2 separate regions of the Homo sapiens genome follow, and region 2 is linked to region 1. The links are contacts of gene promoters, found by promoter capture Hi-C in blood cells and fetal thymus (Javierre and others, 2016). All regions are on one chromosome and are shown on one strand. Each heading gives the region's core, a stretch centred on a gene start or on the middle of the fragment in contact. The rest is flanking DNA. Distances are from core to core; before and after follow the strand shown.

What was found. Contacts are between HindIII fragments. The CHiCAGO score rates a contact against its expected background, and 5 or more counts as called.
Region 2: the fragment with the promoter of COLGALT1 here is called in contact with a fragment that was not itself captured in region 1 in 5 of 17 cell types (M0 macrophages, M2 macrophages, endothelial precursors and 2 more); the score reaches 8.9 in M0 macrophages.

What each region holds. Positions count from the first base shown.
Region 1 is chr19:17,851,176-17,853,875 of GRCh38, forward strand. No RefSeq gene overlaps it. Among named protein-coding and RNA genes, the nearest start is that of JAK3, 4.5 kb to the left of the region's middle. The HindIII fragment of the contact is 3,709 bases long and covers 1-2,700 here.
Region 2 is chr19:17,554,350-17,557,051 of GRCh38, forward strand. COLGALT1 (collagen beta(1-O)galactosyltransferase 1) reads left to right here and starts at 1,300. Exons shown (of 12, transcript NM_024656.4): 1 at 1,300-1,624. The coding sequence starts at 1,365. It also overlaps a transcript of NIBAN3 not described here. RefSeq lists a silencer at 1,378-1,467. The HindIII fragment of the contact is 3,085 bases long and covers 1-2,091 here.

The DNA of each region.
Region 1 (2,700 bases), core at 84-2,583:
CAAGACTCCGTATCAAAAAATAAATAAATAAATAAATAATTTTTTTTAAAAAAAGGAAGTTCTGGGGACAGAACCCAGAACTTGCCCGAGAAAAATGGGGCACGTCAGTGATGCAAACACCCAGATTTTTCTGCTGACAAGAAGTCCATAAATACAATCAAAGAATAAAATACAATCAAAGTGTAACTGGAAACAAAATTGAACTCATGGATAAAATATCCTCGTTATATAAGTAACATCTAGAAAGCAGTAAGAAAATGCCAACCAGTTAGGTGGATATGAATCCAGAAGTCAGAGAAAATGGAGGACAAATAGCTCTTAAACCCAGAAAAATTTCCTCAGCTTCACTTGCCAAATGAAAATTAAGAGTACAGTGAGGCAGGGCCAGGCACGGTGGCTCATGCCTGTAATCTGAGCACTTTGGGAAGTCAACATGGGAGGATCATTTGAGCTCAGGAGTTGGAGATTAGCCTGGGCAACATGGTGAGATCCGTCTCTACAAAACATACAAAAATTAGCCAGGCATGGTGGTGTGCACCTGTAGTCTCAGCTACTTGGAAGACTGAAGTGGGAGGATGGCTTGAGTCCAGGAGGCAGAGGTTGCAGGGAGCCAAGATAGTGCCACTGTACTCCAGCCTGGGCGACAGAGCGAGACTACATCTCAAAAACAAAAACAAAAATGGTAAAAGACTGAATAACTTCCTCCTGAGATTGGAAACAAGACAAGGATGTCCATTTTCACCACCTCTATTCAACATTGTTCTGGTGATGTTAGCCACTGTAATAAGAAAAGAAAAAGCAGGCTGAGGCAGGAGAATGGTGTGAACCAGGGAGGCGGAGCTTGCAGTGAGCCAAGATCGGGCCACTGCACTCCAGCCTGGGTGACAGAGTGAGACTCCGTCTAAAAAAAAAAAAAAAGAAAGAAAGAAAAGAAAAGCTGGGCATGGTGGCTCACGCCTGTAATCCCAGCACTTTGGGAGGCTGAGGTGGGAGAATCACAAGGTCAGGAGTTCAAGACCAGCCTGATCAACATGGTGAAACCCCATCTCTACTAAAAATACAAAAATTAGCCAGGCATGGTAAAAATACAAAAATTAGCCGTGCGTGGTGATGCGCGCCTGTAATCCCAGCTACTCAGGAGGCTGAGGCAGGAGAATCGCTTGAACCCGGGAGGTGAAGGTTGCAGTGAGCCAAGATCGCGCCACTGCACTCCAGCCTAGGTGACAGAGGGAGACTCTGTCTCAAAAAAAAAAAAAAAATTAAAAATTGGCAGGGTGTGATAGCTCACACCTGTTGTCCCAGCTATTTGGGAGGCTGAGGATTGCTTGAGTCAGGGAGGACAAGGCTGCAGTAAGCCATCATCACACCATTACACTCCAGTCTGGGCAACAGAGCGAGATCCTGTCTTAAAACAAAAAAATATATGAGAAAAATAAACAAGTCAGGTGTGGCTGGGCATGGTGATACATGCTTGTAGCCTCAGCTACTGGAGAAGCTGAAATGGGAGCCCAAGAATTTAAAGGCAACATAGCAAGATTCTGTAACAAGCAAAACAGAATAAAATAAGTAATAAAAAAAAGGTAAATAAAACTGTTGCTATTTGCTGATGATATGATTGTTTATGTCAAAAACCCAAGGGAATCTATAAGACAACTACTGAAATTAATACATAAATTCAGCAAGTTACCAGGTTTAAAAAGTCCGTTGAATTCAATACAAAAGTCAATTGAATTTTTATACACCAGCAGCAAACAATTGGAACATAAAAAAATTTTGAAAAATTTCCTTTGCAGCAGCACTGAAAAAGATAAAATACTGTGATGGTCTGAGAGTTTGCGTCTCCCCAAAATTAATACATTGAAATCCTAACCTCGAAGGCGGTGGTATTCAGAATCGGAACCTTTTAAGAGGTGATTAGATCATGAGGGTTGAGCTCTCATGAATGGGATTAATGCCCTTATAAAAGAGGCCCCTAGGCTGGGCATGGTAGCTCACGCCTGTAATCCCAGCACCCTGGGAGAATTGCAGGCTGGTCTCTGACAAACAACTTGTGTTTGAGACCAGCCTGGGCAATGTGGCGAAACACCACCTCTACCAAAAAAAACACAAAAATTAGCTGGGCATGGTGGTGCACACCTGTAGTCCCAGGTCAGGAGTTTGAGGCCAGCCTGATCAACGTGGAGAAACCCCATCTCCACTGACAAAACAAAATTAGCTGGATGTGGTGGTGCATGCCTGTAATTCCAGCTACTTGGGAGGCTGAGGTGGGAGAATCGCTTGAACCCAGGAGGTGGAGGCTGCGGTAAGCCGAGATCACACCATTGCACTCCAGCCTAGGCAACAAGAGCAAAACTCTGTCTCAAAAAAAAAAAAAAAAAAAAAAAAGGCCGGGTGCAGTGGCTCATGCCTGTAATCTTAGCACTTCGGGAGGCCAAGGTGGGTGGATCACCTCAGGTCAGGAGTTCAAGACCAGCCTGGCCAACATGGTAAAACCCCGTCTCTGCTAAAAATACAAAAATTAGCTGGGTGTGGTGGCGCACGCCTGTAATCTCAGCTACTCTGGAGGCTGAGGAAGGAGAATCGCTTGAACTCGGGAGGTGGAGGTTGCAGTGAGCTGAGATCGCGCCACTGCATTGCACTCAAGGTTGCGTGACAGGAAAGAGGCTACATCTCAAAAAAAAAAAAAAAAAAAAAAGAAGG
Region 2 (2,702 bases), core at 50-2,549, 300 kb before region 1:
TGCACTTGTAGTCCCAGCTACTTGGGAGGCTGAGGCAGGAGGATCAGTTGAGCCCAGGAGGTTGAGGCTGCAGTGAGCCATGATCATGTGATCATGCCACTGCACTCTAGCCTGAGCCACAGAGTAAGACCCTCTCTGTGAAAATAATAATAAGCTGGGCGCGGTGGCTCACGCCTGTAATCCCAGCACTTTGGGAGGCTGAGGTGGGCGGATCAGGAGGTCAGGAGTTCGAGACCAGCCTGGCCAATATGGTGAAACCCCATCTCTACTATAAACAAAAATTAGCCGGGCGTGGTGGCGCGTGCCTGTAGTCCCAGCTACTCAGGAGGCTGAAGCAGGAGAATCGCTTGAACCCGGGAGGCGGAGGTTGCAGTGAGCCGAGATCGCGCCACTGTACTCTAGCCGGGGCAATGGAGTGAGACGCTGTCTCAAAAAAAAAAAAAAAGAAAATAATAATAATAATAATAATAATGTTCAGATGTATTTTTTAAAGTTTTTATTGTTTTTAAAAATAGAGGCACGGTCTTGCTATGTTGCACCACTGCACTCCAGCCCGGGCAACAAAGCCAGACTCCGTCTCAAAAAAAAAAAAAAAAAAGTGTGATACTAAGTCAATCAATTTGAAAATGCGGCTCTAGAGTATTGGAAAACAATCCCTTGACAGCGTTTCCATGAAAACATGGCCCTTGTCTCTGGAAGAGCTTGTGCCCAGAACGGTCCATTATCATGCCCTGGCTCTATTTTCACGCCAACCCTATAGGGTCTCTATGATCTCATTTTATAGATGGACAGACTGAGGCTCACATATAGCAAGCCCAAGGCGGGGACTGAATGTGACGCCAGGTCTGTGGACGTCATGACCTTTATTCTCCACAACCCTCAATGACATCCCTGTGAGATCCAAAACCAGGATGGCAAAACCCACGTTGCAGCAGAGGAAACTGAGGCTAAGGTCTCTTGGGTCCCAAACCAGGTCCTAAGTAGCCAAGTCCGCCTGGTGGCACAGCCCGGGTTTTATACATGGGGAAATTGGGCGGCGCATCTGGCGGAGGTCTCAGTGGTAGGAGGCGCCTGGAGGAAGCGCGGGTTCCTAACCCTAACGCTACCCCTAACATCCCTTCCACGCGCTCCGAGCGCTATGTGCCTTTAAGATCGGTGCGGGGGCGGGGCGTCCTGGGTAGGGCTGCAGGTGACGTCACTCCGGGCCTTGGGACTCGGAGAGCGTCTGGAGGCGGGGCCTGGACTTCACGCCCGGCGCGCTCCTCCCCTTTAAGGCGCGCGGCCGGGCGGGGCCCCTATGACCCCTTTAAGGCGCGGCCAGAGTCCTCCCGCAGAAAAACGACTTAAAGGAGACGCGTGGCGCGATGGCGGCGGCCCCACGCGCGGGCCGGCGGCGCGGGCAGCCGCTCCTGGCGCTGCTGCTTCTGCTGCTGGCGCCACTGCCGCCGGGGGCCCCGCCGGGCGCCGACGCCTACTTCCCCGAGGAGCGCTGGAGCCCGGAGTCGCCCCTGCAGGCGCCGCGCGTGCTCATCGCGCTGTTGGCGCGAAACGCGGCCCACGCGTTGCCCACCACGCTGGGCGCACTCGAGCGGCTGCGGCACCCGCGGGAGCGCACGGCGCTATGGTGAGTCGAGCCCGCTGTCCCCATCAGGCGGGTCACGCGAGCCCCTGCTTGCTGTCCCCATAGGGGTGGGTCCACGCGAGCCCCTGCCCGCTGTCCTCTTCTGGGCGGGTCCGCGCGTGCTTCCTGCTCGCTACCCCCATCGGGACGGTTCTACGCATGCCCCTGCCCGCTGCCCCCATCGGGACGGGTCCACGCGTGCCCCCTGCCTGCTGTCCTCCCATGGGGCCAGACACAGCCCTCCCCACAACACAAGCGGGACCGAGTTCCTCCTGCTGGCTCCTTTGGGGTGGGCTGGGCACCGCTTCTGCCTGCTGGACCCTACTAGGGCAGCTCCGGCCTCACTAACTGGGGCTCTAACTCCCTCTGGGGCACGTACACCTCCAAAGGACGGAGCCCAGAGCCCCCACTGGGGCGTTGCCAGAGGCCACATCTAACAGCAAGCCTTTCTGTGCCGGCTGCTGCCCTTAAGCTTGAACTCAGCCTGGCTCCAGGCCCCAGTCAAACCCCTGCCCTCAGACCGGCGTGGGTGGAGTCCAGGACCAGATGGCCCAGGAGGAAGTGGATGCTTTCTTGGTAGGGAATGGGGCAGAGCTCTGAAGAAACCTTTGACTGGTGACTTCTCACTCCCTGCCTCAGTTTTCTCAAATGGAAAATGGGTCCGGGTGCAGTGGCTCACGCAGTAATCCTAGCAATTTGGGAGGCCAAGGTAAGCGGGTCACTTGAGCTCAGGAGTTCGACACCAGCCTTGCCAACATGGCAAAACCCCGTCTCTAGAAAAAAAATACAAAAATTAGCCAGGTGCGGTGGTGTGTGCCTGTAGTCCCAGCTATTCAGGAGGCTGACGCAGGAGAATCGCTTGAGCCCAGGAGTTCGAGGCTGCAGTGACCTATGATTGCACCACTGCACTCCAGCCTGGGCTACAGAGTAAGACCTGCCTCTAAAAAAAGAAAAAGAAAAGAAAATGAGCGTATTAATATAATTCTCTTTTTGGGTTTGTCTCTGAAGATTATCCAGTTAATGGATGTGGAGCCCTTGGGTCTGGCATGGGCTTGGCTCTCAGTGATTTTATTATCATGAT